Regions from separate parts of the Homo sapiens genome. Here all the other regions are linked to region 1. The links are contacts of gene promoters, found by promoter capture Hi-C in blood cells and fetal thymus (Javierre and others, 2016). All regions are on one chromosome and are shown on one strand. Each heading gives the region's core, a stretch centred on a gene start or on the middle of the fragment in contact. The rest is flanking DNA. Distances are from core to core; before and after follow the strand shown. Region 1 holds the start of NCR2 (natural cytotoxicity triggering receptor 2). Region 2 overlaps NFYA (nuclear transcription factor Y subunit alpha). Region 3 overlaps FOXP4 (forkhead box P4). Region 4 has its middle 38 kb from the start of NFYA. Region 5 holds the start of TREM2 (triggering receptor expressed on myeloid cells 2).

What was found. Contacts are between HindIII fragments. The CHiCAGO score rates a contact against its expected background, and 5 or more counts as called.
Region 2: a contact is called between a fragment that was not itself captured here and the fragment with the promoter of NCR2 in region 1, in 6 of 17 cell types (neutrophils, megakaryocytes, M0 macrophages and 3 more). The highest score is 9.1, in neutrophils.
Region 3: a fragment that was not itself captured here is called in contact with the fragment with the promoter of NCR2 in region 1 in 4 of 17 cell types (naive CD8 T cells, M1 macrophages, M0 macrophages and 1 more); the score reaches 9.3 in naive CD8 T cells.
Region 4: a fragment that was not itself captured here is called in contact with the fragment with the promoter of NCR2 in region 1 in 2 of 17 cell types (neutrophils and monocytes); the score reaches 6.5 in neutrophils.
Region 5: a contact is called between the fragment with the promoter of TREM2 here and the fragment with the promoter of NCR2 in region 1, in 2 of 17 cell types (neutrophils and monocytes). The highest score is 9.6, in neutrophils.

Annotation. Positions count from the first base shown.
Region 1 is chr6:41,333,120-41,338,271 of GRCh38, forward strand. It overlaps NCR2 (natural cytotoxicity triggering receptor 2), which reads left to right and starts at 2,489. Exons shown (of 5, transcript NM_004828.4): 1 at 2,489-2,809; 2 at 2,968-3,309. The coding sequence starts at 2,758. RefSeq lists an enhancer at 1,107-1,236. The HindIII fragment of the contact is 13,900 bases long and covers 1-5,152 here.
Region 2 is chr6:41,092,992-41,098,143 of GRCh38, forward strand. NFYA (nuclear transcription factor Y subunit alpha) reads left to right here. Exons shown (of 10, transcript NM_002505.5): 8 at 1-94; 9 at 1,405-1,506; 10 at 4,366-5,152. The coding sequence ends at 4,419. It also overlaps a transcript of OARD1 not described here. Among named protein-coding and RNA genes, the nearest start is that of NFYA, 23 kb to the left of the region's middle. The HindIII fragment of the contact is 2,462 bases long and covers 1,258-3,719 here.
Region 3 is chr6:41,574,843-41,579,994 of GRCh38, forward strand. FOXP4 (forkhead box P4) reads left to right here. Exons shown (of 17, transcript NM_001012426.2): 3 at 3,144-3,239. Among named protein-coding and RNA genes, the nearest start is that of MIR4641, 21 kb to the right of the region's middle. RefSeq lists enhancers at 3,535-4,158, 4,159-4,781. The HindIII fragment of the contact is 6,912 bases long and covers 1-5,152 here.
Region 4 is chr6:41,108,686-41,113,837 of GRCh38, forward strand. It overlaps the pseudogene ADCY10P1. Among named protein-coding and RNA genes, the nearest start is that of NFYA, 38 kb to the left of the region's middle. The HindIII fragment of the contact is 5,004 bases long and covers 352-5,152 here.
Region 5 is chr6:41,161,627-41,166,778 of GRCh38, forward strand. It overlaps TREM2 (triggering receptor expressed on myeloid cells 2), which reads right to left and starts at 1,490. Exons shown (of 5, transcript NM_018965.4): 1 at 1,417-1,490. The coding sequence starts at 1,456. The HindIII fragment of the contact is 7,981 bases long and covers 1,102-5,152 here.

The sequences.
Region 1 (5,152 bases), core at 1,239-3,738:
CCTCATCTCCCTCAGTTGTGAAATCAGCACTGAGAGAAATTCCCTTTTGTCCCTGCTACTTCTGGTTCTATCATGGGGGAAATTTACAGCTACCCCTTCACCCCTGCCCAGCCTAGCTTAGCCCTGTGCTGCGTTTTGGGGATCACCTCCAGACCTCTACGGCTCCCTGCTTTCCCCATTTCTGCATCAGAGGCCAGCCCTCCCTTCCCATGGACCTACCCAGGCTCGGAGCCACTGTTGCAGGCTAGACTGGGCCTTGCTAGAAAAGCAAGTACATGAAGTCTCCAGCTCTCCCAGCTCCTTCTCTGGGTTCCTGTGAGTGTGTGTGACAATGAGTTTGGGAGAGGAGGTTGCTGAGGTTCCCAAGTTCTCTGAGGGACCTTCTCAGAGGGTGGGCAGGGAACCCAGAATCCCCCAGAACCCCAGGCTCTTTGACAGGACTTTGCTGTGCCCTGCTCTGATCGTGCCAAGGGGGAGGCACTATCCCTAGCTCTTCAAGAGACTTCTGAAAGGGCCCCAGATCCCACCACAGCTACCTGCCCCAGTCCCTCCTGCAGAAATTCAACTTGTGACAAGGGCTGTTGTGGGTCCCCAGGGAGCAGGGCCAGTCCCAGCCTGGATGAGGGGCTGCCTAAGCCCAGGCTTCCCTGCCCCCAGGTCCCAGATGCCAGAGGAAGCTGAGCGTGCAGATGGTTCCAGCAGGGGCCTCCCCCTAGGGTGCTCAAGGCCCCAAGTCTATGTGGAGGGTGCCCACCCCACTCACACAGGTGGGGAAGCCACAACACAGAGAGAGGGGCAGATTCCCCGCTTTGAGAGCTCCTGTCCCCTGGGGAGAGACGACACACTCTGACACAGCAGAGAACGATACAGAGCTGGCTGCAGGCTGAAGAGACACACAGCTAGTGGCACATAGCAAGGGGTGCTCTTGTAAGCTACAAGAAGGAGCTGTCACTTAGAGTCAGCAGGGGTCAGAGAAGGGGAAAGTCAGCATGGGAACACAGTTGCTGACACACACACACACACACACACACACACACACACACACACGGTGACGTGCCTCGGTGCCATCTGAGGACAGGGCCGCCTTCCTCCCCCTCGGGAGGATGCCCCCACCCTGATTTGGTATGTAATTATGTTCAGGGAGAAGCTGGGCCCCACTGTCGGCGAGGAAACCCCCTAAAAGCTCACCTCCGCCTGTGTGTGCAATTCAGTGGGAGCCTCTTTCTCACCCCTGGTTTCCTGTCATGTCTGTGGGTCGCATTTCAACCAGACCAGCCGGAAGGCTCCAGACCGAAGTCAGGAGGCCTGTTCTGGTCCTGTGTGACTCTGAGCAGGTGGCTGACCATATCTGGGCCTCAGTTCTCACATCTGTGAAAAAGAGAAGTAATGTCTCCCTCGCGAACCTGCTGAGGGTCTTGAGAAAGTGTGCATGAGAATGCTTTGTAAATAATGCTTGTGTGAGTGAGTGGCGGGCATCGCTCCCTGAGCTGTCTTCTAGCTCTGGAGCTCCAGCCTGCTTTCCCACCTTGGGCCCTTGGGCGCCAACATCTGATAGCCCTACTGTGTCCTCCTTTTGCATACCCCTCTGCCTTTCCCATTCTCAGTCTCTGCATACTCCTACTGTAAGGAGAAGGGCAGTGTACTGAGATGGAGTGGAGAGCAGGAGTCCAGGGGCAGGCAAAGCAGTGGACTTGGAATCGAGTCCACTTGACAAGTTCCAATTCCCGTCTCAGTTATTACCTCTGTTCACAGAGCTCCCGGCAGCAGATCGCCAGTCCAGCAGAGCCCCCAGTGGTGCAACTGCAATTACACACAGTGTCTCTACCAGTCCTAAGATATATTAGCTCGTTCTCTTTGTAAATTGCATCGTATTTTAAAACTGAATCTTCAAAGTGCTGACATTAACTAAAGAAAAATATGCTAGAGTCTTTCATCTGTTTATGTTTTAATTAAACAATATTTCTCCAGGGTCCTTAAGTGGCAGAGGTCCAGGATGCAGAGATGAGGCCAGGTCCTGGTTCCTGGGCTCCCTCTACCCCACCCCACTGATGCATCCCATGCTCCGTGTGCTCTTCCCACCCTCCCCTCCCCGACCTTTGCCAGGGACCCTCCCTAGCCTCCCTTGCTGGTTTTGAATCTCCACCTCCTCTCCCCTCTCCTTTCCCGCACCCACGAAACTCCCAGAGTGGAAGCACATCACTGACCCACCATGGAGGCCTGGGCATGACGTCCCTGGCCATCCTGTGACCAGTGAGGCTTGGGGCTTGTGATCAGGGTTCCAAGTGCCCCTGAGTTTGTCATCCACCCTCAGCCTGCCTTTCCCTGGAAAGGGCGGCAAAGCTAGGGCCCTGCAAAGAAGAGAGGCAGCACACAGAGGGAGCAAGGGGGAAGCAGTCCATAACTCGCCCACAGTTTCCTCCTGGCCTTTTCAGCTCCTCCCTCAGGGGTAGGTCATGGTGGGGAGGGGCAGCTGGGCACAGGGGAGAGCAGGCATCTTCTACAGAGGCCTGGGAAGCTGTGTGCCAGACAGCGCCGAGCCCACCAGACCCAGACTCACCTACAGCTGGAGATCCCCACTTCCCTGTGCCCACAGAATCTGCCCTTTGCAGTCTCCCATCTCCCCAACCCAGGCCTCAGCCTGTCTCATTTTTCTATCAGACGTGCTGGAAGAGCAGCAGAATCAGGCCCAGCTCCCAATTCCCTCTCCCCAGTCTTCTCCAGGTGTCCCCTCCCATGAGCGCACAGGAAAAGGACCACATGGCCTGGCGAGCCCTACACCCACTGCTACTGCTGCTGCTGCTGTTCCCAGGTGAGGGGGAGGAGGAGCCCAGGGAGCAGAGGAGATGGGTGTGGTGGGGACTGTCAGGACAGCAGGGTCAGGGAGCAGGTGGCTCTGTGGCCAGAGGCCTGCTGTGAGGCAGGTTGTGCGCGTGGCCTTGACCTATGCGTTACTTCATCATTCTCCAGGCTCTCAGGCACAATCCAAGGCTCAGGTACTTCAAAGTGTGGCAGGGCAGACGCTAACCGTGAGATGCCAGTACCCGCCCACGGGCAGTCTCTACGAGAAGAAAGGCTGGTGTAAGGAGGCTTCAGCACTTGTGTGCATCAGGTTAGTCACCAGCTCCAAGCCCAGGACGATGGCTTGGACCTCTCGATTCACAATCTGGGACGACCCTGATGCTGGCTTCTTCACTGTCACCATGACTGATCTGAGAGAGGAAGACTCAGGACATTACTGGTGTAGAATCTACCGCCCTTCTGACAACTCTGTCTCTAAGTCCGTCAGATTCTATCTGGTGGTATCTCCAGGTGAGCTCTTTCCCTAGGGTCCTCAGAGGGGTGCCCCTCACCCCCTTTTGGTGCCTCCATCACCCCTGGTTTCCCAATCGTGGAAGCCACCCATGCCCACGCCCCAGTCTCCTGGGAAGGCTGTTGGGAACAGGTGCAGGGGGAACTCATATGTGCACAAGAGCAGCCATCTCACAGTCTGCATGACTCCCAAGCCTGCAGCCTGGGCCTCCTGAGAGATGCTGAAACAGACCCGGTGAGCATGCTGACCAGTCAGCCTATATGACCCTGCTACAGGAGGGCAGGACCACCCGGCATCTTTGGTACATAGTAGGTGCCCAGGAAAGGTGCATCCACTGGCTGCCCCCACCATGTAGAGCCAGTGGTATCTGGGTAGTCTAGATACCAAGATACTATGGGTATCCCTCATAGTCCAGATCGGGGACTAAGAATGAGTGAAAAAAACTAAGAATGAGTGAAAAAAAATCAAAAGAAAAACAATATTTTGTGACATACAGGAAATTCAAATTTCAGTGCCTATAAGTGGAGTTATTTTTTGGAACACAGCCATGCCCACTCAATTACCTATTGTCTGTGGCCCTTTTCATGCTGTGACAGCAAAATTGAGCAGCTGTGACAGAGACCACATGGCTCATCCCTGACCCTTTACAGAAAGTGTGCCAAACTCCTGCTCAGAGCAGAGCTACCCACAGTTCCTGTGGAAGAGGACCTTCTAAAAAAAAATCTGCAATTCACATGAGTAATTTTTTTTGTAAAATACAGTAAAAAAAAATTACTAGAAAAATAAGAAAAAGATATATAAAGTACAAGCCCAACATTTATTAAATTTGACAAACATAAAATTACATTTTAATGAATACAATCAGAACAAATATCACATAGGGAAAAATTTATAAAAACTGTATACATTGTTCATTTGAAAGTGTGCCTAAAGGTGATTGATGTAGTGGCTTAACGGTATACCCATAACGTTTTGTCATTCCTCAGTTAAAACTAAGTACAAAGCTAGAAGGGAAATTGCAGTTCTCCATATTAAATGCCAATATGCACCCTTCAAACAAACACCCTGTCTTTCCGTTTTTAAGGATTATAATGTGACAAATGAGCACTTTTCTTACTTGGTAACTTTCCTAATCTGAGAACTATTTATGACACCACATCACTTAGGAGATAATGTATAAAGAAATTGTGTTGATTTTTTTTAAAATAATACTCACAGTAGAAGCCCAGAAAACTGGTCTCACGGAGGTATAATGTCAGAAATAGAAGAAATTTTAAAGCAATTCCGACAAGCTCAACAGTTTTATATTTAACTTTTACAAAAGGAAGCAAGCGATGCTGTAATTTCAAAATGCATCTTCAATCCTTTATCAGTAGCCAGTTCCAAAACTTTATCCTAAAACTTATAGTTTAAATTATCTTTCGATGGGAAAATATGGATTCTAGATCTATGAATTTCCTCTGCATATATCTTCTTCTGACAAAAAAACGAAATTCAAAACATGCTATCAAATTATTAATGTTTTCCCATGAGCACTTGTGAAGATATGCAATATCAATATTATCACTTATTTTGTTGATAAATGTTATTAAATTAAGAACATGTCATAACAATTCATAGAAATGGTTCTTCTGACTTTTATGTTTGCACTTAGACTTTACTTGCCATTGAAAAACATGTCGCTTTACTTCCTTGCATGGAAATATTAACTTCAGAACTACAGTATAAACAAGTCTGATGGTACAATTCACATTTGTACTAAACTGGCTTCTTGTCTTAATTAGGAATTCTTCCTATAGATGAAACATGCTCAACAAAACTTTAAATTTGGCATGCAACAGT
Region 2 (5,152 bases), core at 1,239-3,738, 240 kb before region 1:
CTACGTGAATGCCAAACAATACCACCGTATTCTTAAGAGGAGGCAAGCCCGAGCTAAACTAGAGGCAGAAGGGAAAATTCCAAAGGAGAGAAGGGTATGTATAACATTGGGAAGGATATAGGAAAGGAGAATAGCAGGGTTCTACTTTTGAAATTATCTTTTATATGGCTTGTTTTCTCACGTACCTTCCAAACAATTGACGTTAGATACTTGTTGTCTCTTTTGTAAGAGTTAGCATTTGTTATTACTAATATGCAGCTGCAGTTATAATAACGAAAACAAACAGTGGCTTAAATAAGATGTTATTCCTTTTCATACATAAAAGTAGTCCAGAGATAAATTATCCTGGACTGGTAGCACATTTTCACAGTTCTCAAGACCTGTTTCACTGCTTTAATATTGCTAGTGTGCTGTTCATGGTCCAAGATTCCTGCTTAGGCTCCAGCCTAGGAAGAAAGGGAACAAGAAAGGTACCCTTTCTTTTTTTTTTTTTTCCTGAGACTCAGTCTTGCTCTGTCATCCAGGCCGGAGTGCAGTGGCACAATCTCAGCTCACTGCAACCTGCACCTTCCATGTTCAAGTGATTCTCCTGCCTCAGCCTCCTGAGTAGCTGGGATTACAGGTGTGCGCCACCACGCCCAGCTTATTTTTGTGTTTTTAGTAGAGACGGGGTTTCACCATGTTGGCCAGGCTGGTCTCGAACTCCTGACCTCAGGTGATCCACCTGCCTGGGCCTCCCAAAGTGCCGGGATTATAGGCGTGAGCCACCATACCCGGCCAGGTACCCTTTCTTTCAAGGAAACTTTGAAGAAGTTGTGTACCTTCCACTAGCCGGAATTTAGTTACCTGATCACACCTAACATGCAGATAAGGCTAGGAAAGTCCAGCCTGGTGTGGTGGCAAATGCCTGTAGTCCTACTTGGAAGGCAGAGGCAGGAGGATCACATGAGCCGAGGAATTCAAGGCTGCAGTGATTCATGATCATGCCACTGCAGTCCAACAGCAAGGGTGTCAGAGTGAAACCCTGTTTCTAGAAAATAATAATAATAAACTTTAATGCTAGGAAAGTCTTTTTACTGAACACTCATTTGCTCAAACGAAATTTGGCCTGTTATTAAAGCAGAGGAAAGTGTATATATTGTGAAGTGTAGGTGGTAGTCTGTTATTTTTTTTAAAAAAAATTCATACTATAAGCATTCACAGTCTTACAGTAGTTATATATGGTTAGCTATATTACTTACTAGGTGTTTTCTCCAAAGCTTCCATCGTCATTCTAAGTCATAATTGTCCCTTGTGACTTTGATCCCAGCTGTCTTAAACTTTGGAGAATGGAATTTGTGCACTAGATAACTGTGCTGGTTCTGGATAGTATTAATAGTTAAATGGTTTTATTTCTCGTTTTAGAAATACCTGCATGAGTCTCGGCACCGTCATGCCATGGCACGGAAGCGTGGTGAAGGTGGACGATTTTTCTCTCCAAAGGAAAAGGATAGTCCCCATATGCAGGTAGGAAGACATATACATTTTATTCTTCTCTTTATTACCTTGTATTGACTTGAGTTGAAGCCTTCAGCAGTGTCCTCTTGCTATTTTCCTACTCTGGGACTACTCACATTCTCTAAACTGGATGCAATCTTATGTCTCTTTAGATTATCTTTTATCTTAAAACCACTAGGCCAGACTTGGTGGCTCATGCCTGTAATCCCAACACTTTGGGAGGCTGAGGTGGGAAGCCCAGGATTTCAAGACCAGCCTGGGCAACATGGCAAAACTCCATCTCTACAAAAAAATACAAAAACTAGCCAGGCCTGGTGATGCATGCCTGTAGTCCCAGCTACTTGGAGGGTTGAGATGCTCTTCGTCTTTGTCACTTATTACTATTCATTCTTTCTTGAAAATCACACTTTTCTTAATTTTCAAGGAACAAGTTTTATTTTTATTGAACAGGTTTTATTACCCCATCACAAATATAATTTGAATGTTTACTTTTTTCCCTTCTAACTGATGTGAGCCTGGTCTAATCCTCTCTTCTTTGGCTTAGATTTATAAAATAGCTGCTTAATTTGGTTTCCCTTCTTCCACTTTTGTTCCCCTCTAGCCTACTCTCCACATCCTAGTGTGATCTTTTTAAAATGTTTATCCTATCAAGTCCCTGTTCTGCTCAAGCTCCTTCAACCCCTACCCTTTCCCATTTGCACTTAGACTGACATCCAAAGTGCTTACTACTATGCCCAGCAAAGCCTTACATGCTCCAGCTCCTGTCTACCTCTAACTGCATTTCTACTTCTTGGTCTCTATGCTGCTGTTTACTGTTCATTGGTCTACTTCCTGCCACGGGTCTTTGTCCTTAGAATTTTCAGTCTGTATGCCCTTTATCTTTTTCATGCATGTCTATCTCCCTATCTGTTAGGTCTGGGTTTAATTAAATACCCTATCTAGAATAGATCTCTTCTCTCTCAGTATGTTCTTACAACATCTTTTCTTTTTTTGGAGGCAGTGGTGTGATTATGGCTCACTTTAGTCTTGACCTCCCAGCTCAAGTGATCCTCCCACTTTAGGCTCCCGAGTAGCTGGGACTATAGCCACGCACCACCATGCCCAGCTAATTTTTAAATTTTTTGTAGAAATGGAGTCTCACTTTGTTGCCCAGGCAGGTCTCAAACTCCTAGGCTCAAGCGATCCTCTCGCCTTGGCCTCCCAAAGTGCTAGGATTACAGGCGCACACCATTGCACTTGGCCCTTTTCTTTACAGTGTAATAATATTTAAGTTGTTGAATTTTTCAAGATTGTTTCCTTCACTAGACTGTAAGTTGTATAGAGGGTAGAGGATTGTTTCGTTCTCTGTTATATTTATTGGACTTAATTCTATTTAAGTAAGTTGTATTTAAGTACTGACTTAGATGTATTTGTTGGGTTTAGTATCCAGTTCTGAACCAAGCAATCAGTGTTTCTTGAATTAATAGATTCCTCCCATTTGCTGATACTCCATTCTATATTAACATCACATTCCACTTGCACTATTGCAATATCCATCAAATTAATCTCCAGTCTCCTCTAATTGGCCTTATATAGTACTTATACAGTACATGGTTAAAGTGTTTTTTTTAACCTGCCAGTCCCCAGGTCAAGGATGCATGCTATTAATAGTTCTCATTTCTTAACTGCATCAAATCTCAAACTATTTCTGTATAACATCTAAGCAACTTTGCCTTATCACCCCCTCAACAATCAAACTAGGTTTCCTCAGTGTCCCCACACATGAACACTAACAACTCTTTCAGTGCTATTAATCCTCACCTGTAGTGTGAGAGCCCCTCCTTTCTCATTGCTATTCATTCATAACGGTGTATGAATGTGGGCCTGACAGCTATTGTGGCAGGAGGGCATTGTGCCAGGAACTCTCCTCATTCTGTGTGCTAACAATATGATCTTGGTCAATTCAGCCTCTTTTATTTTTATCTGTAAAGTGGAATACTGTTGATACTTCACAGCAATGTTGTAGGGATTTCATTCAGTAATCCACATTAGGCATCTGTGTAGCACCATACCTAGTGCATGGTGAGTTCAGTAAATGCTAGTTGTTTTTGCTCATTGTTCAAGACCCAGTTCCAGTCTTCCATCTCCAGAAGGCTTTCAGCTTTTTCTCAGATCCTGCCTACCAAGGCTTCAGAGCCTTGGTATGGGGGAACTAAAGGTGGTTCTTGCGGAGTGTTGCAAAAAGCTTCCAAGGATTTATCCTTGTGTTAACACGGTAGGTCTTAAGTGAGAAACAGCATATAGAGTTTAGTGGAAAGAAGATGAAATGGGAGTCAGGAGATTTGGGAGTTAGCCCTTGCTGGACTCCTAACTTTCTGACCCTGACCCTAGTCCACGCAAATCACTTTACCCATCTGGCCTTCAGATTTATCTGTAAAACGAGTACATTAAAGTGTATAGATTCTAATGATTCTTTCTAGCCCTGCTAAGTACTCAGTATTTAAATGATGATCAAAAAACAGTGACAAAAATACAGCATGACATGGTTTCTCTGGGTCTTTTCCTTAGACACCTGAATCTGAATACTCTTAACCCTTAAGTATAGAGAACAACACAAGGTTCTTAGGAAAGAGATACACTAACAGCCCTGCAGTGTTTCACCATGGAGTGCAGGCCAGACTTTAAATTATTTTAAGAATAAGGTTTATTGTCTCTTCTTTCCTAATGGGGCTACACTTTAAGCCATGTATGCAGACTTAAGATGTATTACAAGCCTTTGATTTACTTGGTAAAGTTATGTGTATTCTCTTGGGGGGATAAGTAGTGAGAGCCATGAGTTCCTGTTGCTTTTGCAAAGGACTTTAATCATCATGTCATCTTTGTCTCTAGGATCCAAACCAAGCCGATGAAGAAGCAATGACACAGATCATCCGAGTGTCCTAACCCCACGCCATGTGATGGAGCTGATCAAGGTCATGTTTCTCACTGTTCCAGGAAATTGATCAACTCTTCCAATGGGACATTGATGATCACATTCTGCCCTTTACTACAGGACAGAAACCACTTAGTTTTTAATAAGTGGCTCAGTATTACAATTGCAGCGATGCCTGGCAAATTGAAGTTGCAAGCCTTTGTCTTACTCTTTCAGTCAGGACCTATTTCAGACTGTTGATGACATTGACATTTCATGGATTCGGATGATGCAAGGAGACACATGCCACCCCAGCAGTACACAAAGCACTTACCTTGACTGGTGAAGTCAGCCAGCCATCTCAGCAGGGAAGAACAACCTTCTCAACCAAAACTGCAATCAGGAAAGCAGCAGCCCACTCCTTCCCATGGAATCTAGACAGCATTTATCCCTCTGGTGGGGGAATCTCACACTGACTAACTGAATGGACGCTTTGTATTCAGAGATGGCTTCCAGGCAAGGAAGTTCTATCTTGTGATACGGAAACAATAAATTCCTGAGATACATTCTTCCAATCTGTGGTAATAATAAGAATTCCTCTCTGCCCAGATGGTAGGTTGATATTTCTGGACTCTAGCCAAGAAAAAGCTAATTCTGGGGATAGAATGATAAAAGACTCAAGCACTAAAAATATACATTGCCGAATCTCTTTTTCTAGCTTTGAAAAGTTGTGGCCTGCTTGTCCCTCTGTTGACTGGTCATCTG
Region 3 (5,152 bases), core at 1,778-4,277, 240 kb after region 1:
CACCACCTCTGGGAAGCCTTCCGAGACTTCCCCAGGTAGAAGAAAGCCTTCTCTGACCCCTGGCACTCACCCCCACTTCAGGCTGACTAGTTTCTTATCATTCGTGTTTTGTTTTGTTTTGTGTTTTGTTTTGTTTTGTTTTTTGAGATGGAGTCTTGCTCTGTTGCTCAGGCTGGAGTGCAGTGGTGCCACCTCGGCTCACTGCAAGCTCCACCTCCCGGGTTCACGCCATCATTCTGCCTCAGCCTCTGGAGTAGCTGGCACTGCGGGCTCCCACCACCACGCCTGGCTAATTTTTTGTATTTTTAGTAGAGACGGGGTTTCACCATGTTAGCCAGGATTGTCTTGATCTCCTGACCTCATGATCCGCCTGCCTTGGCTTCCCAAAGTGCTAGGATTACAGGCATGAGCCACTGCGCCTGGCTATCATTCTTTATATTAGAGGCTATCATCACAGAACCTGAGCTGTGAGCCCTGGGGGGGCAGAGGCCACATTCTGTTTCTGTGTATCCCCAGCCCCTAGCCTGGTCCCTGGCACGCAGCAGGTACTTCATAGATGTGAGAAGAGTGGTGAGTGAGGACCCATGTATGAGAAGGAATGGTGGGAAGCTGAGGGAGGGGAGCCTTGGCCAGACCTAAGGTCTTACCTGGCTCTCATCTGGCCTGGTCTTGGCAGGAAGAAGGAAAGGGGTTGTGGGTAGGGGGTGTAGGGGGAGGAAGGGCCTGTCACAGGGAGGGGGAGGTCTCAGGAATGAGACTGCAAGGCCTTGCCATTTTTTTCCTGTAAATCATGTAATTTCATGCTCCAGGGGACCACAAAGTAAGAGAGTCAGTGGGGAGTCAACTCCCCTGGCCACCCCCCACCCCACCCCAGGAGACTGAGCAGGGCTCTGCCCCCAACTGCCCCCAGGAGCCCCTCCCTGCTGTTCCCTCCTGTCCCCCGGGGATCTGGAGTGTGTCATCTCCCCACCCCAACCAGTGTCCCTTTTGGGTCGCCTGGGCTGGCCAGCCTCTCTGAGCCATCTTCTTCCCCTACCCTTGTGCCCTGGCCTCTGACCCCTGTACCCCCTCAACCCTACTCTACCTCCACCTTTGGAGGACAAAGAGCACTTGTCAGTAGACCTGGAGGAGTTTGTAAAAGCAAGGTAGTAGAGGCAGGGGCTCCTTCCTAATGACCACCTGACTCCCTGCCCTTCCTCACCCGCAACCCCCCCCCCCACCCTTCCTCCTCTTTCCGCAGAGCCTTTTGACTTAGAAAGGTCAGATTTCTGCTTTCTGAAGTGAATCTGGAAGAGGAGAAACATCCTGTCCCCCTCTGGAAGCCCAGGGCACTTCTCTGGGTGTGACATCCAGGGAAGGAGGTGGGGTGGGGGTGGCCTGTGAGGAGCACACCAATCTGAGCTCCAGGTTTGCTGCAGGACACCTTCCCGTCAATAGGCCAGTGCATATTTAGTTGCCCTCCTAGGGTAAACTAGATTTAAAGCCTCAGGAGGCTCGGCTGTTTGCACTGATGATGAACGGACGCGAAGGTGGTTGTGTGTATATGCTTGGTACACAGTGGTCACTCTCTTTGCTTGTTGAGCGATGATGGGTGGTGCAGCCATATCCCACCTTAAAAGGTTTTGCCTTGAAGGTGCTTGTGGTGGGGTAGGAGAATAGGGGCCCATACAGAAAAAACAAGTGTATGTGTGGACAGATGTGAGAGAGAGCCACAGGCGGGCGCATTTCGTCTAATAAGTGCGCAGGGCACGAGGCTATGTTGGGGAGAGGCTGGAGGAGGTGAAGTGGAGAATTGTGGAGAGATTAATGAGAGCCGAAGGGAGTGAATACTTCCCGAATGCCAACTGGATGCCAAACATTGGTCCTTTAATCCCCCTAGTAATTTGGAGATGGGTAGTTTCCCAGTTTTGCAGATAAGGAGACTGAAGTGCAGAGAACTGGAATAACTTGCCCAAGGTCGCAGCTGGCAGGCCGCACAGCTGGGATTCAGACCCAGGACTGCCTAAGGTTGGAGCCCTGTGTCAAGGGCTTAGACACACCTGCACTGGCTCCCAAGGGGGTCTTGAGCAATCTGGAAGCAGATAAATTTTGTGCTGCTGAAATGTGGATTCAGAACTTGCCTTCAAACCTCCCACTGAAGCATAGTGAGGACATAGAGGGCTTGACTGGCCTCATAGATAATTTCCTGGGCCCTCCTGACCCCTCACTCCTACCAGACGTCTCACTGCCCATCAGTTTACCTTCCGGGCCCCTCCTACTCCTTGACTGTCACACTGACCCACTGGAGTGATTCCTCCAGCAATCTCCATATGCCTCCCACTCGTATGACCCCTCTGGCTCAGTTCAGTCTAAGCCACTGTGGCCACCAAGCCCACAGCACGATGGTCCATGCATCTCTGCTGATAGTATACCTTTCAGAACTTAATCTAATTCCTCCAGCAGCATGCATGTACAATCCTTGAACTCAGAAAGTCACACGGTACTCAGACCTTGTGCCACTGACCCCAGGGCTCTTCCCTCATCCTCCCAACTGTGTGCTCTGGCTCCACAGTGAATGCTACTTTTTAGCCCCCAGACTGACCACCCAGTAAGGCAGTTGGCCTTGGAGCCAGGCTTCCTGGGCTCAAATCTTGGCTCTGATGCCGCCTAGCTGTATGATCCTGGGTAAGTTACTTAACCTCCTGGAGACTCCGTTTCCTCATCTGCAAAATGGGGCAATAATCCCTACCTTACAGCCTTACAGAGGAAGATTAAATAAGCTCTTGCCTGTACAGTGCCTGACCCATAGTAGATGCTCAACAAATAGTACTGATTTACTAATGCCCTGAGTCAACCCCCTTTATTTTCCTCTAAGAGTCCCTTTTTGACCATGGGCCCTTCCATTTGCTGTCCCCATTGAGTCCTAACAAAACTTCACTGGGTCCCAGGCTGAGTCTGTAGAGGCTCTGATCCCTGAACCCCAACAGCTCTTCTCAGTGACTTCTACTACCCTTACCCCAAGCCCTTATGGACCCATGACCCTCTCACCCCCAAGACCTTCCACCTTACCCTGATCTCCTTCTCCTTACTGCCCCAAACACTCCCTAATCCCTGGATCCCACCCAGCCTCCCAGGCCATTGCTGACTCAGCCCCTGTCTTGCAGGCTCTCCAAGTGGCCCGGCAGTTCCTGCTGCAGCAGGCCTCAGGCCTGAGCTCCCCAGGGAACAATGACAGCAAACAGTCTGCCTCTGCTGTGCAGGTGAGGAAGAGAGCACCCCGCTGGCTCTGGGTTGGGCTGGAGTGTGGGCCTGGCACAGAGGGAGGGCAAGGACCCGTTGGAGAACTGCTCTTGCCAGTTCCAACACCAAAAAGTGGGCAACTTTTCAAAGGAAATACAGTCACTGCAGGGGTGGGGCAAAAAGGCTTCCCACTTTCTCTCGTCTCCACCTGATCAGCCAGACCTTCCGCTAGCTTAGCCTCTTTGTCCCTGTCACTCAAAGTTTGTCTGCAGCTCTCCCTGTCTCTTTGTACCTCTCTCACTGTTTGTTCTCCCCTGCCTCTTCCCTTCAGGGTCTCTCTTGGTCACTTCTCATGTTTCTGCGTCCCTGTCGGTCACTCCCTCTGTCCCTCTGTGTTCCTGTGTCTGGGGCTCAGCCCCTCCCAGGCCATCTCTGTTGCTGCAGTCACGTCACCAAGTCCCCCCTTCTCTTATCCTCCCCCCTTATCCCTCATCCACCAGCTCTCTCGCAGTCTCTCCATGCTTCCTGTCTCTTGATGTCTCTCTGTCTCTTTTGTTTTCCTTTGCACAATCTGCCCTTTTTTCCCCTTCTCCCTTCCCTCCAGCTTGCCAGCCCATCTGGCTGGCTGGGGGAGGGGAGATCTGTGGGGGGTGGGCGGGGGGTGGGGGAGCCAGGCCTTCTGTTTACCTTTTGTGTCACAAAGAACTTGGGAGAATTGCAGTCTGAGTCCGGGTTGGGTCACTACTCGGGCAGCCACTCCCCTCCCCCTCTGCCCAGCAGCCCGGGATCCATGCTCCCCCCACCCCTCCCCCAGCAGAGGGAGGCTCAGAATTGGGGAAGGGATTAAGCCAGGCTTTGAAAGGAAGTTTATCTAAGGGAAGAAGGGTGAGTATGGTTGGTTCTGAGCTGGAGGTGCTCTGGAGTCTGGGGCTGGGTGCTGAGGGAAGTGAAGAGGAGGGTGGGGTGGGTGCAGGGTGCTCAGAGAAGGACCCAGGACCAGGCTTTGTCCTGGGTGGAGATTCCAGTGCTCTGACAAAGTCTGAGTTTTATGTAAAACAAGTTTATGTTTGGAAAAAGTTCAAGGTGCCCAACAGATGTGCAGCCTTAACAGTAACCCTCTTAAAATTCTTGACCCTAAGGAGACAACCCTCAAAGGGGAGGAGCTGGGCAAAGATCAGGGCGTGGCCTGGGGTGGAGGAGGGGAAGACACAATCTGGAAAGTCAATAAAGAGAGGAAGAGAAAGATCTCATCAGAATGAGATCTAAAAGGTTCTCATACCCATGCTGGTCAGGATTGGGCCTCTTTAAATTAATGATCCCCACATACAATCCCAGGGTTTGAAGTGGTCCTTGGGCTTCCACTCTGAATCCTGCCCGCCCTGGACCCAGCTTAGAACAGGAAGGAGTAGGCTGGACAACAGCAAACGTTCCCCCAAACCAGAAAGGGGCTGCTGACCCAGGGGTAGGAGGGTAGGAGCTTGATGGTAGTGGGAGGGACTGGGGTAAGACATCTAGAAGGACTGCTCAGCTGGGGATTAAGGGTCACAGATCTGAAATAATTGAGAGCTGAAGGGAGACTATGGAATCTTCCTTAGGAAACTCCCTCCCTCCAAAATAAGAGAGGCCTAGAGGTTTCAGAGTCAGAAAGACAGATAAAATGATGTTTTTCTCAGGCCTTCTCTCTCCTTGTCTCATTACTTCCAAAAATTCATTGATTGATTCATTCATTCATTCAACAAATACTTACTGAGTACATCCCAAACTAACAACTGACATATACAGAGTGCTTACCATGAAGTGTAGACACTAAGCGCTTTACAGCTATCTCATTTATCCTCACAGTCCTATGGGAGAGGTGCTATTCTAGCCCCATCTTGCAGATGAGGAAACTGAGGCCCAGAGAGGTTAAGAAAGTTGTCCAAAGTTATACAAC
Region 4 (5,152 bases), core at 1,604-4,103, 220 kb before region 1:
GGAGATAAAAGGCAAACAAGGGCAATAGAATCCTCAGCCTTTCTTGTGTGGGGGCACAGAATTAAACAGTTTCCTTTCTGTAGTTAAGAGATATGTGGATCATTGATCCATTTGATTTTGATGAGCATTTTGACAAGTGCCTCAATTATCTACCACATTACCGTACGAGTGCTGGTAAGTTACTTTGTCCTTCCTACCTAAGCCCCAAATTTTAAACATTAATTTTCCACATGGCCAGGGACATTTTGTTTTTCTTTTCTCAGAGACTCTTAAGAACTGCACTGGAATTGGATCCACACTCTGAACTTGACCAAAAGCTGCAGAAGCACATAATGAAAAACCTTTTGAAGAAGCTTATTTCCTAGTTCTTGAATCCTCATAGAGTCTCTCTCTCTCTCTCTCTCTCTCTCTCTCTCTCTCTCTCTCTCTCTCTCTCTCTCTCTGTGTGTGTGTGTGTGTGTGTGTGCATGCACATGCATAAACAGGTGTACAATTATAAGTGACAACTTTTTTATATTTATCCAGTTAATCTCCAGCAACCCATTGTAATTCCAGCAAATTTACCCATCTGTGCCAACATAATACTGTGATGAACATGTCTTAAACCTTTAGTTAGATTTCTCAGTCCTAGAAAGTAGAAGCCATATTTGTTCTTTAGTTTGTTCTTTAACAATTTAGTACACTGTAAGAAGGGTATAGAGTGTATGTTTGGTAAATATAAGTTGACTGATTGTATATATATGAATATATGTGAATTCCTTAGTAAGAGATGTAATGACTAATGGATGTGTCAAATTAATTCTTAGAGAGTAAATCTTGACAGATTTCATCAGTGAATTCTGCCTAAAGTCAGTTTTAATTCCAAGTTCATTGGTTTGTATATCTTCTATACTGAATTTTCTTTTAAGTTTTTGCTGAGACCCATAAGTTGTTTTCTCATACATACCATGAAATACATAATTAAAAATGCCTGAACATGATGTTGATAGTTGAAAATACAGGTAGGTAACTCAATGTGTCTTTATAGATTGATGAAGGCCAGCCTATAGAGTATGTATCTGAATTCCGTACGATGACTCTGGTTTTGGTCAGCCTAGAGTTCCACAGGACAGCGTGGATGTTGCATTTGTGTCATCTTATCCAGGAGGCTGCCTTATACATCTCCACAGTCATTGAGAAAGGGGGCGGCCAGCTGAGTCGGATCTTTATGTTTGAGAAAGTAAGTACAAGGGAACTTGACCCATCAGCATTAAAGGTGAGTGAGGAGTAATGGTCTTGTACAACCAGTTGATCTCCCACATAATGCAAGTGTAAGTCAAATTCCCTGCTACTTATTTTGTAACAAGCTATATTACATTAAAACTTCAACTAATGTTAATTAAGGAATGGGATGTTCCTTTTTTTTTTTTTTTTTTTTTTTTTTTTTTTTTTTGAGGTGGAGTCTCGCTCTGTCGCCCAGGCTGGAGAGCAGTGGCGCGATCTCAGCTCACTGCAAGCTCCACCTCCCACGTTCATGCCATTCTCCTGCCTCAGCCTCCCGAGTAGCTGGGGACTACAGGCGCCTGCCACCATGCCCGGCTAATTTTTTTTTTGTATTTTTAGTGGAGACGGAGTTTCACCGTGTTAGCCAGGATGATCTCGATCTCCTGACCTCGCGATCTGCCTGTCTTGGCTTCCCAAAGTGCTGGGATTACAGGCATGAGCCACTGTGCCCGGCTGGGATGTTCTTGTTAATTTAATTTTCAAGGTTACTGAGGGTTACTCTCCATGTCATTTTTTATTGAATTCTTATTGAAGAATCCTTGTGAAAGCATAAAGAATGTTTTTCTGGTTCTATTAGTAAATTAAATGTAATCAAGTCTTTGTCAGATAATTAAAGATCTTGAAAAAAAGCAGAATCTTAACACTTGACATTATAGGTGAAGAAAATGTGGGCACATAGACTCAGCTCAAGGTATATACTAGAAATTAAATTTTTGAAAAGTTCTTGATAGCAATTTTTCTTGTGTTTTAAATTTCAGTTCTTTGAATAGTTAAATCAAGATTTTTGTTAATGTCTATGTTGCTGGCCAGGCACGGTGGCTCACGCCTGTAATCCCAGCACTTTGGGAGGCTGAGGTAGGCAGCTCACAAGGTCAGGAGATCGAGACCATCCTGGCTAACACGGTGAAACCCCGTCTCTACTAAAAATACAAAAAAATTAGCCAGGTGTGGTGGCGGGTGCCTGTATTCCCAGCTACTTGGGAGGCTGAGGCAGGAGAATGGCATGAACCCAGATGGCAGAGCTTGCAGTGAGCTGAGATCGCACCACTGCACTCCAGCCTGGGCGACAGAATCTCAAAAAAAAAAAAAAAAAAAAGTGTATGTTGCTGTGGCCCAGCATTTCCATTTTATGAATCATGTAGAATCTGATATTTCCAACAGAAGAGTGTTCAAGGATAGGGTCTGGGTTCATTCGGTGGAGCTGGTTTAGTTTAGGCAAGCCACATTCCTTTCCCAGGTAAGTGTCTCATTTCTTTGTTTGTCATCTATCCCAGGGCTGCATGTTCCTCTGTGTTTTCGGCCTTCCTGGTGATAAGAAGCCAGACGAGTGTGCACATGCCCTGGAGAGCTCCTTCAGCATCTTCAGCTTCTGCTGGGAGAATCTTGCTAAGACCAACTGAGGAGGAAGGTGGGGCAGAGAGGAGCTTCTCAGGCCCCAGGGGCTCTTCAGGCAGGGTAGGAGGCAGTAACAAGTGGCAGGGATTCAAGTAGTCCAGAATCTGCCTAACTCGGAGGGAACATGCTAAGGAAAGTGAGCAAACAAGATCTATTAAGAAATCACTAGATACAGATCTCTGTACTGGATACCCAGGGGAAATAAAGATACATTCCCATTCAGCGGGTCAGGAAAAGGGGAGAAACAGAACAGACATACCAAGATTCGAGAACACTGCAAGGGAACAAGCAAATGTGTAAATTAATGTGATGCAAATAACATGCCTGTGGAGAGGATGCAGAATAAAGGCTGCCTGTCTACGAGAGAGTATGAGAGAAGTTGTGGAGAAATTACCTAGATAGAAAGGAACCACAGCTGGTTAGCACTCTCTTGGCTTTCATTCTGGGTCTTTCCCAGATCTTATTGCTTTTTCTGGACCTTACACTGAACTGATCTCCCTCTTCCACATCCACGCCTCACCCAACCACCTTTCACAAAACCTAACCCAGATGAAGGTATAGAAAAATCTATTTTCCCACTAGTTGCATTATGATAAAGTTTGTTGGAAGTTTTCAATTGACTTTTTAAAATAGAAAGCTATGGAGAAAGTGTATACATGAATGAATTTTAAAAATAGTTACTTCCAATGTTAACATCGAATCAGATTGGTTTGCTTGCCACAACTTATTCAAAATGGATAAAAATTATATCAAACATGTACATAGTACTTTAACATTTATAGAATACTTTAGTATATGCTACCAATGTGAAAATTTGTATCCCTCTTTATTTTTTACTTTTTTTTAGAGACAGAGTCTTGCTCTGTTTCCCAGGCTAAAGTTCCGTGGCACAATCACGGCTCACTGCATCCTCAACCTCATCCTTCCAAGTAGCTCAGACTATAAGCACACGCCCCACACTGGGCTATTTTTTTTATTTTTAGTAGAGACAAGGTCTTGCTGTGTTGCCCAGGCTGCTTTCGAACTCCTGAGCCCAAGCGATCCTCCCACCTCGGCCTCCCAAAGTGCTGGAATTATAGGTGTAAGCCACTATGCCCAGGTCCTCTTTTATACATGAGGAAATAAAAGTCACAGAAGAGAAGTTACTAGCATATAACAGAGCTTGTAATGAAACCCAGATCTTCAGTCTTCAAATCCTGTGTTGTTTCATTACTTATCCCCCACCTGCCTCTTATAAAATGCAAATGCTCCCCCAAAAGAATAGAATATGCTATTAATGTGATATAATTATAGATACACGCTCATAGAATGTTACTATTGGAAAGGAATTTAGAGATTATCTGATCCAAGCCTTATTTTAGAGATAAGAAAGATGCTACAGTTGCTTAATAGATACTCAGACTCTGCCCAAGGCAAATACATGTTAACACTTCTTTCAGGTTTGGTGGGATCTGCAGATACTCCTATATCCTACCTCCCAATCTTATCTCCAGGGTGGAAATGCTGGGCAGTATTAGTCAGGGTTCTCTTAGAGGGACAGAACTAATATATATATGTATATATAATTATATATATTATATAGAACTAATATATATATGTAATATATATTATATATAAATATATATATATGTAAAGGGGAGTTTATTAAGTATTAACTTACATGACCACAAGGCCCCACAATAGGCTGCCTATAAGCTGAGGAGCAAGGAGAGCCAGTCCGAGTGCCAAAACTGAAGAACCTGGAGTTTGATGTTTGAGGGGAGGAAGCATCCAGCATCGGAGAAAGATGCAGGCTGGAAGGCTAGGCCTGTCTCGCTCATTTCACATTTTTCTGCCTGCTTTATATTCACTGGCAGCTGATTAGATTGTGCCCACCAGATTAAAGGTGGATCTGCCTTCCCTAGCCCACTGACTCAAATGTTAATCTCTTTTGGCAACACCCTCACAGAAACAACGCAGGATTAATACTTTGAATCCTTCAATCCAATCAAGTTGACACTCAGTATTAACCATCACATGGGCCATCCCTTCCAGTGCTGGTCTGTTCTGTTCTTGAAGTTTGTATTGACCTATGGCCTTCAAGGTCCCACCCTTGGCCCTTACTCTTAAAAGAGTCATTTCTTTGTCCTTTAGAGACTGTCTTAAAATTCCCTTAAGAATGCCTTCCATCACTCTTAGGCTGTAACTTGGTCATTTCCATCTTATTTAGTTTAGAATATAATAGATGTTAAGAACTAGATGGGGTATTAGAGTTCATCAAATTTGACCTCTTTAAAGAAACTAAGATCCAGAAAGGTTATGCTGGTAAGCCAAACAGATGTCAAAGCCTCAAAGCTAGGTTTCAAGGTCAGTGATTTTTCCCTCGAAGATAATTACTAATTCAATATCTCCCAAAGTGTGTTTGGTAGAATGTTATTACTCCCTTAATATGCTCATGAAAAAAGAAAAGATTTTCATCACCAAATATGTTTGGGAAGTGATGCAAATTATATTT
Region 5 (5,152 bases), core at 240-2,739, 170 kb before region 1:
ATTCATTCACTCCTTTGTTTACCAAATACGCTTTGAACACTTGCTCTGTGCAGTGACCTAAACAGACAAAAATCCTGCCCTGAAGGAGCTTAGGTTCTTATACAAGTTGGGAGCGGATGGCACAGCATGTGTTTGTGGGAAATTGGGAACCAGGAAACCTGGGACCTGGGTTTGGTTTTCTCACTGTTGCTCTTGCTGGGCCTCCTTGGAGAAGTAACTGACCTTCTCTGGGTCTATTCTGGAGGCACTTGGTCTTAAAACCCCCTCCAGTTCTGTTCTGCACATCTCTTTGCCATCATTTGGGACTGGGACCTCTCCTCTCGGCCTGGGGCTGGCTCTCCCTGCCCCGCCACTCTTGCTTGCTCTGCAGCCGCCCACATTGGTACCGACTTTCCTGACCTTTAACTTCCAGCTTCCCTATTTCTGTGGCTTTGTTCCCCTTTCAGGAAGGACCCGTCTCGGAGATATTTTGGGGGAGACATGAGGCTGCTATTTTGGGAACCCTCCTTAGGGCGGGGGAGATGGGCTTAGAGCACCAGCCTGTTGCTGGGGCAGCCCCCAGAGCCCCCTGCTTTGACTTCTCTCTTGGTCCTCCCTTGCCTGCCATCTTCAACCATTACTGTGACAGAGGCTTGAAAGATAGGATTGGGAAGTTGGTGGCTTGCCTTTTGGAACTAGAGAGACCAGATGGGCCGTGGCCCTCTCCCATCTGACCACCTCCCATCCATGCCTCAGAACCCCGCCTTCCCCCTGACCACCATCTAAGAAGCTGCAGGAACAAGACTCCATTTGGCACCGTCTCTCCTCTTGCCCAGGTTTGTCCAGTGCTCTGGGGGAGCAAAAGGTGCGCTTTCCTCAGCGGGAAGAAGCAATTGTGTACAAAAATTTGGTGTGTCAATTCCCCTCAACTCAGCAACGGAAATCTCTACGCTCCTCACCTCCCATCAAGAGCTGAGGACAAGGGGACCTTCAGAGCAGGGGAGAGAGTGCCCCAAAGATGCAGATGAACATCCTCAGGTTCTTTCCTCCTTTATAACTGTAGGGGCTCATAATTAGTGGCTTATAATTTCAGAGGCTATTACCAGTGCCAGTGCCCCCCAAAGCTTCCCCCAACTGCCAGCTAGTGCCTGGGATGCCACTGTTAGCACTCCTTCCCTTCCAATGCAACCAGAGTCCACCAGCCCCTTACATGTCCACATGCAGAAAGAGTCTGAGGGTAGGTTTTGATACTGGGGAGGGAAGGAGGGTGTGAAGAATATGGGCAGGGTGGGGAGGAGAGGAGTGCAGAACAGGGCACTCAGGCATGCGAGGACTGCCACCGCCTTCATAATTCACCCCAGGGCCCACCACCCGCGCCCCAACCACATGCTCAAAGTGAGGGAGAGAAGGCATCACAGGGCACGGAGGGGATCCTACCTGTGACAAAGAGTAAGATGAGCAGCCGGAGAGGCTCCATGCCACCCTTCCCCAGCCAAGGGCAGAAGCAGAGTGCCTTGTGCAAGATCTCGTCTTTCCCTTGAACTGCAGAAAAGAGAGGATCAGGCATGTCAGGCGCTGCCCACAGGAACTGGGCTCCTGGGGATTAAGCAATAGTCAGGACTGGGGTCTGGAGGCGGTGCAGGGTGGGGACAGAGGGGAGGAGGAGTCGGCCACTGCAGCCCTGGCAGAAGGAGGCTGAGTCTCCCAGACCTCTGAGAAGCCAGCCCACCCTCCTGCTGGTGCCAGCCAGGGTGGCCCCCAGATGGTTGGGGCTGGTAAGGCCCTGCACTGCTCAGTTTCCTTGCAGAGCCTAGCCCAGGGATCACTATCCTCACAGCTGTATTCAGACCCTCCACCAGCTGCAATGCCCGCCATCTTCTGGTTTCAGCCTTGCAAGAGTTGGAGAACAGCTGTGCCTTTAGAGGCCAGGACCCTCATCCAGCACCTCTTAGTTCATCCCCCCAGGGCTGTCATTCCTGTAGTGTGGCAGCAGTTAAGTACACAGCTCTGGAGCCAGACTTCCTGACTTTCTGGGTGTGTAACCACACATCCAAAACCTACCTGTGTCTGTTCCCTGATCTATACAGTGGGAATAATGATAGTGCAAAGGGTTATCAGGAGCACCATATGGGTTCCTACAGGTAAAGTGCTTTCCAGTAGGGCCTGACACACAGCATTCAACAAATACTAACTATTACCATTATCCTAGTTAGAAGGGAAAAGGGAAATGGGCTGTCCATAAGACAGAAAATTTTCTCTCCCACCTGGAATTTTCTGCCCAAGTTTAGCCTTCTTGGAACTGTTGGGTGTCTCCTGTGCACACATGCTCACACTGGTGTTTATTTTGTGCACACACATGCTTGAACTCCTGATCATCCTATCCTACAGGACAGGACAGGATATTTCTCAGAGTTCTGGGGGTAGGGGTGTGTTTTTCTACACGTACAGGTTCCCATGGTGATCCAAGCACAGGGACCCACGTGTGCAAAGGCACAAAAGTGTGAAATGGCCCAGTGAGTCGGGGATTGGATGGAGGAGGCTTGAGTCAATTCTAGGAGTGGGAAATGGAGTTGTGCTGGGAGTGGCAGAAGAGGCTGGAGAAGCCTGCAGGAGCCTGTAGATTATCAGGGTCTACTTTAGTTTCCTGCAAACACTCACTTATTTGTTCTTTTATTCATTTATTTACTCATATTTACTGTGCATCTAACTTACGGACAGGGAATGTGCTTGGAGATGGGGAATTCATAGTGAGGAGAAGACAGGCCTCCACTCAAAGGGCCAACTGCCCGGCCTTGCCCCAAGGGCCTGGGGGCTGAAGTCTGAGGCTGCCTGAAGATCACTCTGTAGGTACTCTTCTAGGGTCTTTTTCTAGAAGTCAGGTTTATTGGCCCATAATTTACATATACAAAAATTTACCCCTTTTAAATGTCTAGTTGTGTAAATGTTGACAAACTCATGCATCTCTATAACAACCACCACAATCACCATGTCTGTGTAACACAATACCATAATATAGAAAGTTTCATTTAGCTTAAGCGAGAGCCTTTGTGCCCATTTTAGCCAGTCTCTTTCTCTCCAATCCAGGGCCTGGCAACTACTAAGCTGACATCTGTTTCTGTAGCTTCCTGCCCTTCCTAAAATGTCATAGACATGGAATTAAATAGTATGTAGCCTCTTGGGTCAGTCTTTATTCACTCATCAGAATAAATTCAGCATGCGTGAAGTTTCACTTCTCAAGAATGTATTCCTTTTTATTGCTAAACCATCTTTCATTCTATGGTTGAACCACAAGTAGCGTATTCATTCACCCGCTGATGGATATTTGGGTTGTTTCCAGTTTGGGACAATTATAAATGAAGCCACTATAAACATTCATGTACATATGTTTTGTGTGGACATATGTTTCTATTACCCTTGGATAAAATCCTAAGAATGGGACTGCTGGGTCACATGTAAGTGTATGTTTAAGTCTATAAAAGCTGCCAAAGTCTTTTCCAAAGAGGCTGTACCATTTTTACATCCTTGTCAACAGTTAATATTGTCAGGTTTTAAAAAGCCTTTCTAATAGGTTTAAGGTGATATCTCCTTCAATTTTAACTTGTATTTTTCTAGTGAGTAACGATATTGGACATCTTTTTGTTGTTTATTGCCATCTGTACCTTCTTCAGCAAAGTATTAGTTCAAAACTTTTGTCCTGTCCATTTTTAATTGTTTATTATTATCATTATTATTGAGCTGTGAAAATTCTTTTTATTCTGGATAGCAGTCCTTTATCAGATATGTGATTTGCAAATATTTTCTTCTAGTCTGTAACTTTTTTTCTCATTTCCTTAGCAGCATTAGCAGCATCTTTTTTTTTTTTTTTTTTTTTTTTTTTTGAGACAGAGTTTTGCTCTTGTCACACAGGCTGGAGTGCAATGGTGAGATCTCAGCTCACTGCAACCTCCGCCTCCCAGGTTCAAGCGATTCTCCTGCCTCAGCCTCCTGAGTAGCTGGGATTACAGGCACCTGCCACCACGCCTGGCTAATTTTTTTGTATTTTTAGTAGAGACGGGGTTTCACCACGTTGGCCAGGCTGGTCTCGAACTCGTGACCTCAGGTGATCTGCCTGGCTCAGACTCCCAAAGTGCTGGGATTACAGGCATGAGTCACTGCACCCAGCCTAAATGGATAGATGTTATTTCTGATGAAGTCCAATTCCTTGATTTTTCTTTTTACAATTTGTGCTTTTCTGTGCTCTGTTAAAAAGTTTGCCCATCTCAGAGTCACAAATATTTTCTCCTATGTTTTCCATTGGAAGTTTTATAGTTTTAGGTTCTACATTGTGGTCTATGATTCATTTTTCATTAATTTTTGCATGTGGTATAAGATGCACTTTGCAATTTTTTCAACATATGAATGTCCAATTGTACTAGCATAATTTGTTGAGAAGACTTTCTTTTCTTCATTGAATTACCTTAGTGTATTTGTTGAAAATCAATTGACATGTAGGTCTAGTTCTGACTGTTCTGTTCCGTTGATCTATATGTCTATTCTTTCTCCAATATCACACTGTCTTGATAACTTACTGTAGCTTTACACTGTCTTAAAATCAAACAGTGGTTCTTCAAAATGGTTTTGACTCTTCTAGTTACTTTGCTTTGCCATGTAAAATTTAAAATCAGCTTGTGGATTTCTAATCCTCTTCTTCTCACCCCCAAAAATCTGTTGGGCTTTCAGTTGGGATTGCATTGACTCTATGGTTTAGTTTTAGAGGGAAATAGACAACACTGTTGAGTGTTCCAAGCCATGGACACAGTTCAGCTGTCCATTTATTTGTTTCTTCTATGATTTCTCTCATCAGTGTTTTCAGTTTTCAGCATACAAATCGTGCACATATATTGTTAAATTTCTACCTAAATATTTTATGATTTGGGGTGCTATTTTACATGATTCTAGCTTTCTGTTTCCTAGGCAGAAGCATAACTCATAAGCTCCATAAGTTTTTATCTTATCTTCTGGTCCATTTAAGCTGCATATTGACCCCATGTCCCCACTCCTTCCCACATGAGGAAAAGGTCTTTAAACCTCATGGAAAAGCGAAGGCACCAAGAAATCCTTACCAATTACTCACAGCACATGTACATCAAAGGCTCTTCTTTAAACTTGTGTTAATTTTCCTGATCCCTCGATC